2 separate regions of the Homo sapiens genome follow, and region 1 is linked to region 2. The links are contacts of gene promoters, found by promoter capture Hi-C in human tissues and cell types (Jung and others, 2019). All regions are on one chromosome and are shown on one strand. Each heading gives the region's core, a stretch centred on a gene start or on the middle of the fragment in contact. The rest is flanking DNA. Distances are from core to core; before and after follow the strand shown.

Region 1 (5,751 bases), core at 2,793-5,292, 120 kb before region 2:
ATTCTCAGCAAACTAACACAAGAACAGAAAACCAAACACCACATGTTGTCACTGATAAGTGGGAGTTGAACAATGAGAACACATGGACACAGGGAGGGGAACATCACACACCAGGACCTGTTGGTGGGTGAGGGGCTAGGGGAGGGATAGCATTAGGAGAAATACCTAGATGATGGGTTGATGGGTGCAGCAAACCACCATGGCACCTGTATAACTGCACAAACCTGCACATCCTGTAACAAACCTGCACATCCTGCACATGTATCCCAGAACTTAAAGTATAATTTAAAAAAAAAAAAAAGTGGCTGGGTGCGGTGGCTCATGCCTGTAATCCCAGCACTTTGGGAGGCCGAGGCAGGTGGATCACCTGAGATCAGGAGTTTGAGACCAGCCTGGCCAACATGGTGAAACCCTGTCTGTACTAAAAAATACAAAAATTGGCTGGACGACGTGGCTCACGCTTTTAATCCCAGCACTTTGGGAGGCTGAGGCGGGCGGATTTTGAGGTCAGGAGATCGAGACCATCCTGGCTAATATGGTGAAATCCCGTCTCTACTAAAAACACAAATAATTAGCTGGGCATAGTGGCGCACGCCTGTAGTCCCAGCTACTTGGGAGGCTGAGGCAAGAGAATTGCTTGAACCCAGGAGGCGGAGGTTGCAGTGAGCCAAGATCGCACCACTGCACTCCAGCCTGGGAGACAAGAGTGAAACTCTGTCTCAAAAAAAAAGAAATAATTAAAAGTGTAAAGGGAACACACATCATGAAAGAAGAATGAGCTATTTGGGGAACGATCCCAAAGAAAACTCAGGCCCAAATGATGGGAAGTGCCTTTATACTGCCTTCTGTCTGGCAACTGTCAGGATCTTTAGTGAGATAGGACCCCCAAAGGTCTAGAGAATGTCCAGCCAGGCAAGTGGCAAGTGGCAAGTGGCAAGCCAGACTGCTGCAAACCTTTCTGTGCTGTGCATGCACCAAGCTGCATCAAAGTGATGCTTCCAGGAGGGCTGCATCACCCTGCACCTTGGAGCAAAGCCCAGTTTAGCCAAACGACCCTTCAGCAGACCCTTCCTAGAGTTACCTCTGTTGTTTGCAGAGTTAATATGAAAATCAGTTGGTGTTGTATTGCCTTGCTTTTAAGATCAACTGTGGGCTGGACGCAGTGGCTCACGCCTGTAATTCCAACATTTTGGGAAGCCGAGGCAGGCAGATCACTTGAGGTCAGGAGTTCGAGACCTGCCTGGCCAACATGGTGAGACACCGTCTCTACTAAAAATACAAAAATTAACTGCGCCTGCTAGCATGTGCCTGTAATCCCAGCTACTCGGGAGGCTGAGGCAGGAGAATCGCTTGAACTCAGGAGGTAGAGGATCATGACACTGCACTCCAGCCTGGGCGATAGAGCGAGACTCCGTCTCCAAAAACAAAAGGATCAATTGTGGGGTGGGGGCACAGATCAGTTTTCTGCAGAGAGCCATGGTGCTAAGCCAGAAAGATACACCAAGACTTGGGAAACTGTTCTGCAGTGCAGAGTCTGCAGAGAACAAGTATAGACTCACTGGATGGTCAGACAGGAAGGGATCTTGGGCATCATCTTCCTAAACCTTTGTTTTCCATAAAAGGAAACAGAGGCTCAGAAAGGAGAAGTAATTTTCACTAGGCTGTACCCCAAGTTTGTGAAAGAGATGAGGCTCAGACTTGGTATCTCCAGCCCTGAACCTGCAGCAGAGCTGGCTGAGAGCAAGCCTGTGTGAGTGGCCCGGCCTGCCCAAACTGCCCTTTCTGTTTCCTCTCTTGGATGGAGCCCCTCCTCCTCCATCCACAGCCTTCTAAGAGCGGGGCACAATCGGGTGTGTGTAAGATGGGCAGGAGGCAGGATGGGTTTCCCCTATTAGTTGACATAATTACCCTGCATGGGAGTAGAATAATATGAGAATTTTATTTTTGTGTGTTGATGTGGTTTGGTTGTGTCCTCACCCAAATCTCACCTTGAATGGTAATAATTCCCATGTGTCAAGGGTGGAGCCAGGTGGAGATAATTGAATTACGGGGGATGGTTTCCCTGATACTGTTCTTGTGGTAGTGAATAAGTCTCAGGAGATCTGATGGCTGTATAAAGGGCAGTTCCCCTGCATATGCTCCCTTGCCTGCCACCATGTAAGACGTGAAGTTGCTTTTCCTTTGTCTTCCGCCATGACTGTGAGGCCTCCCCAGCCCTGTGTAACTGTAAAGTCCATTAAATCTCTTTTTCTTTATAAATTACCCAGTCTCCGGTATTTCTTCAGAGCAGTATGAAAATGGACTAATGCAAATATACTGTCTTCAGAGAATATCAAATTCTGCTTATAAGACTTTACTTCAGGTTGCATTGTAATAAAATAATCTCTAATGGTAAAACTTTAAACAGGTGCATCCTAAGAACAAGAAAAGACAAGGAAGAGATACAAGCACCCTCCTCCATGCCTCAGCCCAAACTTAGGCCACCCCATCTAGCCTCTCAGTGAGCTAGCTCTAGTACAAAAACCCAAAAGGGAAGACTGGAAAGGGAAGAAAAGGACTAATCCATGCCTAGGAGGAGAAGCACCAGCCAGACAGCCTGCAGCAAGCCCACAGAAGATCTGGAAAAGAGCAAGGCTAATTTAGGCTTGGAACGTGACCCAGAGCCACCAGAAGCAGCTGTCACCCTGCTTATCCCCCTCCCCCCTGCCTATCATTCACTCCCCCGGGTCCTTGCAAAAACCTACTGCCTGTACGACAGGACCTGTTGGCTCCTAAGTGAGGGAGCAGCTCCTCTTCCCTTGGTGATGCCTCTGTGTGGGCTCTCTAACCAACCATATGTTTGAGCATGCCACACAGCCCTGCAAAAAAAAGACAGTAAGGCTTGTTCCTTGGGGACCCTGGTGTCAGTGAGGGTGAAACTTCCCGCCTGAGGAAGGAGGTGAATGTGAACTGCCCCATCCTACACAAATGATCTGGGGACAGCAGAGGAGACTCCACTGAACCCTTAGGTCAATTAGCCCAAAATTAAATTTAAAGAGCAATGACATGGAAATGAAGGACGGTCATTCCATTAAGAAGAGCAGATGTGGCACTGTGGTTAGGAGCATGGCCTCTGGTGTCCGATAGACTTGGACTGTCTCTCAGTCCAGGCTGCCACTTTCTGTTCATGTGACTTCATGTAAATTACTCAGCTCTCCAAACTCCAGGTTCCTTATCTATAAAACAGCATAATAACTGCTACCCCAAGGAGTTACTGGGAGGATTAAAAGAGATAGTGCATTAAAAGTACCCAGTTCTGTGTCTGCATGTGGTAGGTGCCTGATAAATGTTACTTCCTTTCTTCACCCTGGGCCAGATACCAGTGAAGATACGAAGAATAAAAAATGGTGATTGCAGAGAAAAGTTATGTACCAAGGGAAAACCCTGAAGACCCACATGAGGATGGGACCAGACAGGTCAAAAAGAAGGAAGAGCAACAGGGCTGAAAAAATCTTACCTCATTTACCTCATTTCATTCTAGGACTCCAGAGTCTTGGAGTTTCAGAGATCCCCTGTCTTCTCTTCCCCTCAAACCCTTTTTTCCACCCAGGCATGTCTGTCTGTGTCTTTCTGCGAACTGATCTACCCAGGTGCCAAGACCTACGCCAGCCAAGCAAGAAGCTCCTGGCCCAGAAGTTGGTTGACTTAGCCTCTGCTCCATCCCTGCTGGGGATCCCCTTACCTTGTACCAAAACCATTGCCTGAATCCTGACACCTGTTTGCCCAAGCCCTTAGTCTGAGCCCCTGATGCGTCTTTTGTTCTCCAGGCTCCAAGTGTGCATTCCAGGCAGCTCTCAGCTGACCTGGCCTGGGACCTCTTTGACCAGACCTTGGACACTCATTTCTCCCTGTCTCAGCTGACCTCTCTGATTTCTGACCTGCCAGGTTTTCAGTCTTCATCCTATCTGCCTAGATTCTCACTCTTCTTCCCTCCTTGACAGGTCTATCCCATTCTTGCCTGAGACCCAGGATAACAAGTAGCAACTCAAAGGCCAACTGGAATCCAGTGATGACCATTGCGGGGTAGGAGTTTAAGAAAAGAAAAGCTCTGAGTTCTCTCTCCTGTAAGGAATAGCACTGGCTGAAGCAATTACTCTGGAAGACAATTTGGCAATATCTAGGAAAGCCAAGGATGTGCACATCCCATCACTCAGAAGATTCGTTTGTATTGGTCAGGGTAGACTAGGACAGTGATACTGCAGTTAAAAACAACTCACAGGCCAGGCGCGGTGGCTCATGCCTGTAATCCCAGCATTTTGTGAGGCCGAGGTAGGCAGATCACGAGGTCAGGAGATCGAGAACATCCTGGCTAACATGGTGAAACCCCGTCTCTACTAAAAATACAAAAAAAAAAAAAAATAGCCAAGCATGGTGGTGCGTGCCTATAATCCCAGCTACTTGGGAGGCTGAGGCAGGAGAATCTCTTGAACCCAGGAGGCGGAGGTTGCAGTGAGCCGAGATCACATGCCACTGCACTCCAGCCTAGGCGACAGAGCAAGACTCCATCTCAAACAAACAAACAAACAAAAAACTCACAAATAATCAACAGTGTAAGACAACGAAGGTTTATTTCTGCCTCATGCTGCTCGTCTCTCACAGCTCAGCTGGAGTGTCTGTTTCACACTGTCCTCACGCGGGGACACAGGCTGATGGAGGCTCATTTTCTGCAACTTCAACGGTGACCATAGTAGGGAGAAGAAAAGGGCAAGTTGCATACAGGCTCTGGGAGGCTTCAAATGCTCACATTCATTGGCCAAAGTAAGTCATACGGATGCTTCTATTTTCAAGGGCATGGAGAAATGCAACCCAAGGCACTCACCATGGGTTTCCCAGACAGCAAGCTGGTTAGTACTGGGGAGATTTTCCCTCTTCCCAGCTAGTGAGGCAGTGTCCAGCTCATCTTCCTGCACTGGTATCTTCTTCCTCCCCCATCAGAGATGACTGTAACATCCCACAAGGCTCAAGGTCCTTAGACAAATCTGATAAGCCCAGCACCCCAAATCCAGATGGCCTAGCACCAAGCATCTTTTGTCTTTCCCCTAATAAAGCCACACTCTTATACTTTCCCTACAGAAAGGGACACTACAGTGTAGAAGAAGCTTTCCACTGGAATGAACCCCCAGCCCTGAGGGCAGGTGGTCTGGCCCTGGCATCACCGAGAAAGACTGCATGCATCAAGCCTTGCTAGCCCTGGTCTTGTGATTTTGTCCTTTTATAAAGTAGCACCTATTTCTTTATGCATGTCTTGTGACATTGTAGAATTCATTCAACCCTTTGCATGACCAATGTCAGACCTGAGCAACCCATCTAGCACAATAGGTAAGAAGAGAATCAGAAATACTGGTGAAGAGCAATAATGACTCACACAGTCTAACCTTATTCAAAACCCAATATTTGGTCTACTCTTATTCCTGGATGCAAATATACTCTTCCTTTCTCAAAGGAGATAACTCAAAGGCTCCATACCAACATAGCATCAAGCTCAAACCCCAAGATATCAAATTTTCACAGTAATTTTTACATCAAAGTGACGAGTAGTTATCTCTAGATCTTGGGTCAATATCTCTTTATTAGAAGACTAAAAAGATAAGCTGCTTTGCCAATGTACCAATATTTAATATTGAAATATGGGACAAAAAAATGGCAGTAAACACTCCCATTCAGAAAAGAGAATAATGGGTTACAGCAATTCTGAAATCTCAGAGCATTCTT
Region 2 (5,781 bases), core at 1,139-3,638:
AACAAATCCCAGAAGGAATGATCCTGCAGAAACTTCCTGATGAAAAGCTTCAAAAACAGCACCCATAAAGTGCTTTGGGTTTCAAATATAAGCTCAGGTGTTCTGGGCTGGCGAGCTTGCTAGTTAGAGCACAATGCTAAATGGGGCCAAAGGCACAGGCCAGTTACCTGGGGGTAGCTCATCTCAGTGGCCACCAGTGACCTCAAAACCCAGCCAGCCTCATTCCAGAAAGCCACGTTGTGCATAAGTTGAGGGGGGCTGTTGGATACTGGGGAGAGTCCAGCACAATTGTAACTTTTCTATGTCTTCTCTAAGCCCAGATGTCTGCTCTCATTTTAATTTTGCATGATCTTGTAATGGCACCAATCCCAAATCATGTGAATTTAAAATGCCCTAAGCTTCAAAATATACGCTCTCTCTTTATAAAGTTAACATGATTGCTTCTGAGTTTTTAGATAAATTGAATGATTGAGTGCAAAAACACTGTTTAAATCAGAGTGCGATACACATTTTTTAAAATCCCAGTGTAAAAAAAAATATATATATATATTGCTTGGTTTCAGAAGAGAAACAAGCCTTTTGTTGACATGATATCAGGGGAACAGTACTAAAAAAACATCAAAGATAGTCACACACACAAATATCCCAGAGTATTCATAGGGAACACCCTCTGTCTTTCCCATATGCGGTGTGGAAAACGGGGCCAGAACGATCCTGCAGAAACTTCCTGATGAAAACAACCCCGTCAGCCCTTCCCAAGCTTGAGGCCGGCTGCCACGGAACCCCAGCCAGGGCTCCAGCGCTTCCTTCGCGGCTCCAGGGACGCAGTGCCCTGCAGGCATCGCCTGCTTGCAGCCGACTTGAGGGGCTCACGGAGTCCCCTGTGCCCGGGACGCGGCTAGATCCTGGAGAAAACCCCTCCACCCAGCCCCATCTGGCAGATAGACTCCAGATTAGCAACCCCGGAGTCACGTGAGCCAAATTTACGCCGTACCCGGGTTCCAAGGTTAATCACCCCTCGCCCCCTCCGCTTCCCGGCTCCGCCGATGTGCCTCCTCTTCAGGCGGGCCTGGGGTCTGCGTCTCCCAGGCAGCTTTGGGGGTGGAAAAAAGGAGGGGAGCGGGGGAGGGGAAAGGAACTTCTTTGTTCTTTCACCGGATAAACTCAGTTTACGGAATTCTCCAACACCCACTCCCACCCCCAGTGTGCAAATATCTCTGATCCTCACTTGGAGGGCGAACTACTTCATTCATTGAGACTTTTGTGTTCCTGGCCCTAGGCTAAGTATTATCTTGTAAGATCACATTTAAGTTTCCCAACAACCCCCTGAGGTAGGTGTTATTATCCCTATTTTACAGATAAAAAGAAATGAGGTACTGAGAATAGCTTGCCTAGGGTTTTACAATTAATAGATTGGCACAGTTAGGTTTTGAGCCCCAGCCTGTTTTGACCCAAAAGCCCTAATCTTTATAGCTGTTCTTTATATAGCAGGAATAAGAGTAATAACCACTCCTTGCAGAGCAATTACTATATTCCAGGCACGGTGCACGGTATTTCTCCAAACTTCTCTCAGAGGCAGGTTTGCCACTTACCCGTTATGTGGCCTCAGGAAGTTTCTTAACCTCTTTTTGACTCAATTGCCCTGTCTGCAAAATGAGGCTAAAAATATGGTTGTCATGAAGAGTAAAAGAATTAATATATGTAAAGCCTGGCACACATTCATCCCTGAAATTGTTGTTGCTGTTGTTTTTTAACCATCATCTCCATTTCACAGGTAAGGAACCTACCCTTGGAGAGGTGAAGGAGTGAATTAGTCCAGCTTGCCCGCTGCACACCTAGCTGCAGAGAGACCCCGCTCAGAAGCCGTGCGGGATGGGGGCCCCACAGGCAGGTGAATTGCACTTGGCAGGTGGGAGATGAGCTTCTCCGGGGTCGCTGCAGAACGCGCAGCAGCCCGGGAGGCCGTGAATGGTTATCAGTTACCACGCAAGGCTGGGGGTCCGCCCGCTCCGGATTTGCTCGTAGTGCGAGGGCCCCGGCGGTGTGCTGGGGGATCCCGCCGGGCCCACTTAGAAGCACTCGGGGGGACACACCTGTTCGGGACACCTGTGGACGGGGCCCGGCTGCACCGCAGGAGCCCCCCGCCCTGGCCCCCGCGCACACACAGCCCCCCAAGGCGCGGAGGCCGCCGGCCCTCCCGCCCGTCGCGCTCCAGGGCGGAGTTTCCTCCTCTGCTCATTGTTCACGGCCCAGCGCCCGCCCAGCCCCGGCCCCGGCCCCGCCCGGCCCGGCCGCCGCCGCTGGCGGGCTCCTGGGGGAGGGGGAGGGGCGGGGGCGGGGGCGGGGGCCGGCGCTGACGGGACGGGCCAGGAGTAGCCGCAGCCGCCAGTGGGGCCGCAGCCGCGCAGACGCCGCCCAGGACGCAGCCGCCGCCGCCGCCGCTCCTCTGCCACTGGCTCTGCGCCCCAGCCCGGCTCTGCTGCAGCGGCAGGGAGGAAGAGCCGCCGCAGCGCGACTCGGGAGCCCCGGGCCACAGCCTGGCCTCCGGAGCCACCCACAGGCCTCCCCGGGCGGCGCCCACGCTCCTACCGCCCGGACGCGCGGATCCTCCGCCGGCACCGCAGCCACCTGCTCCCGGCCCAGAGGCGACGACACGATGCGCTGCGCGCTGGCGCTCTCGGCGCTGCTGCTACTGTTGTCAACGCCGCCGCTGCTGCCGTCGTCGCCGTCGCCGTCGCCGTCGCCCTCCCAGAATGGTGAGTGGCCGGCCTGGGTTCCGCCGGGACTCCCACCGTGCCCATGTGCCCCCTGCCCGGCCGAGCTGCAGGGAAGCCCGGCGCGCCGCGTGGTCCGACCCCGAGCAGCCCTATCACCGCCGGGGTCACACACGGAGCCCTGACCTTGCACCATCCACGCCCCCTCCAAACTCCGCAGCGCGGCAGGTGCAGGGCCTGGGCGTAGATTCGTCTCCACTCTCCACTCGGGAGGAGTGGGCGGTGGATTCTGCCCGGGCAAACAGGGGCGCGCCGGTGCTAAGTGGGTTTGCATGGGAAAGAAAAGGGAGACCGCACCGCGAGGCTCCACGCTTCTGCGGGACTCTCGGGATCTGATTACACCTTTCCTTCGTGTTGGAGGGAATGAGGGGCTGTAGTGTGTATTCGTTAATTCCAGGCAAAGAGGCAGGCGAGAGGCTCCCGAGGAAGTCCCTGAAGCAGGTGACAAGCCTCCAGCCACGGCCCACGCGGGCGATGTACTTACCCGTTTGCAGAGGTTTTTTCTAAGTAATGTGTGCAGGCTCAACTCCTTGAGCCCGTGCTGGGGCAGGTACAGAGTCGTAAGTGGACCTTCCACAGTCCCAGAGTCACCTGGCTGAGTGGGGGTCCTACCTCCGTGTCCCTAAAACAATCGCTTCTTAGTGCGTGGCTACGATGGTGAGACCCCCCTCGAATCCTCTTGTTCAAACGGGAACTTGTTCAAACGGGAACTTCTCTCTCGTAGAATAGGATTGGGCTGCATTTTAGACACACCTTAGAAAATGTACCTGTCTCTCATGAAACACCTGCACCTCAGAAACATCCCCTCCCTGTTTCTTTTCAAGGTGAAATGTTACTCTTTCCCTTTTGGGGGACAGGCGATGGCTGCAAACTCAACCAGAACAGGTGTTCTTAAGCCCCTAGGGAACAGCCAGAGTCAGCTCAGCCCCACGGGAGAGGTGCATTTCTCATTCTCTTTTGCCCACCTGAGCACATGTCTGCAGGAAGAGCTGAGGTGGTGTGATCACCCTAGGGCCAGGAGGACTGCGGGGACAGCACAGACAGGGTAGGGATTCTGCTGTGAGCAGGTGCCGGCAGTTTGGGACTGGACTCTAAGGGGCCAGGGGAGATGGAAGGGCAGTACAGTCTCTCCTCTGCACCGCAGGAAACCTTTGGTAGTGGGCAGGCGCTGGCACTCAGGGAGCAGGCAGGCGTGGGCATCCTCCTGTGGCCGGCGGGAGACTCCACCAGCCTGACTAGAAAGGGAAGGTCCCGGCGGGGGGAAGAATGTGTGTCCCTGGAAGAGGGGCTGCAGTGTGAGGAACAGTCAGAACAGCTTTCAGAGTGGCAATCACTGAAGAGCCACACGACATGCAGGGTTGAGATGACACGAGAGTATGGTGGCTCCTTAGCCCTACTCTGGGGACAGCTGGACTTCAGGGTGGGCCTTCATACGAACCTTTTGTTGGGAAGCCTCTTAGAACCACCCAGAAGGGCGTTGGGCTGTGTCAGGAAAGAGGGGTTAGTCCCTAGTGCTTCTGAGCTTAAGGAAGCTGAGCCACCCTTCCTTTGAGGAGTGGGAGGCACTGTGGGACAAGACCCTCCCTGTCTGCCCTAAAAGGAAATGTTCATAAGTCACCAGTGGGCAAAGCTCTGACTCCAGCTCACTGCTGGCTTCAAGGATGGCACTGTTTTTCCTGGCACCTGGGCACTGCCAGAAACCATGTCTCTTCCATGAAGCACCACTTCTGGCCTAACACAGGGTTTGGCACATGGCAGAAGTTTGGTATGTGGCAAACAAAAATGACCATAACCCAGTGCCTGCTCTAACCAGCAAGTAACTTGGCCTATCTGAGCACTGTATGCATTATAGTATGCAGCACTGTTGGGAAGCACTTAGAAAAGTGCAAAGTGCTAAGTGGGGGATGGGGAGAGGATGATGATCATGATGGTGATGATGATTTGCATGTATTGAGGCCAGAAAAGGCTTGTGGGGGGCATGTTGCGGCAAGATTGGTCTGTTCAGTAGCTATGGTGCATTCTACACCACCCTCTAGGGACTCAGTAAGGCCAGCTCCATCCCTGTCCTTCTGAAGGTGTGGTCGCCTGGGCTGCTGTCATCGGGAATAGCATAAACACTGCCCCCCATCTGCTGGAATCCTGTGATTTGATTCAAAGCAAGAAAGATTTATAGCTCGAGTCTCTGCAACAAAGGAATTATCCCCAGACAGGTCCATCCCTGCCCCTCTCCCCCAGCTTACCTTCCAATATATGGGCAGATTATGCAGCCTACAGCAAAGAAAGCATTCACCTTAAGGGTTGGACAATTCATCAGACCCCCTTTCAGTGCTTTTTGGTTTGATAACCATCTGGCAGAACCACAATGGTAAGTCACATCTCCGTGCCTCCGTTTCGTTATTTGTGAGATAGAATAAAAGAACCAAAGGGACCTCTAGTTCCACCATGATAAGATATCTGGGGTTCCGTGTTCCCTCAGCTACTGAAAGGACAAGCTGATTCAGTACTCTCAATCTGATGTTCAATGGATGAATTCTGGGCAACAGAAAGGCAGCTTGGTGGGGTGGAAACACTCAGACTTTGGGTCAGAGAGATGTGCATGACCATGGACAAAATAGTGGACCTCCCTGAACCTCAGTTTCTTCATCTATAAAGTAATAACAGCCCTACCTTGTGGGTTGCTATGAAGATGAGCGAGTATATATATCATGGGCTTGGCTTTACGCCCAACTCAGGATCAACACTCAAAAAATAGCTATGATGATTAGTAAGCATATATATTGAGCACCTGGTGGGTTTAAGGGACCCCAGGCATTGGGATCCTGCCAATGTTTGTGGGTATCAGTGGATATATGATAATAAAAACTGAAGCCCCAGTGCCACTCTGTGGGAGAGGGAGGCATATGGAAAAGAGTATAAGATTTGGAAGGGGTGGTCTGGAGGTCTGGAGAAAGCTTCCTGAAGGAGGTGGGGTTTTCACATAGGGATTTTAAAATTAAAAGGGTCAGTG

Evidence for each region. Contacts are between HindIII fragments. The study calls those that stand out against the background at their distance.
Region 1: a contact is called between a fragment that was not itself captured here and the fragment with the promoter of PODXL in region 2, in 6 of the 25 tissues and cell types used here (IMR-90 fibroblasts, aorta, bladder and 3 more).

Annotation. Positions count from the first base shown.
Region 1 is chr7:131,671,252-131,677,002 of GRCh38, reverse strand. No RefSeq gene overlaps it. Among named protein-coding and RNA genes, the nearest start is that of PODXL, 120 kb to the right of the region's middle. The HindIII fragment of the contact is 6,509 bases long and covers 788-5,751 here.
Region 2 is chr7:131,553,235-131,559,015 of GRCh38, reverse strand. It overlaps PODXL (podocalyxin like), which reads left to right and starts at 2,388. Exons shown (of 9, transcript NM_001018111.3): 1 at 2,388-2,756. The coding sequence starts at 2,657. RefSeq lists an enhancer at 1,453-2,000 and silencers at 1,968-2,087, 2,118-2,177, 2,258-2,767. The HindIII fragment of the contact is 6,040 bases long and covers 580-5,781 here.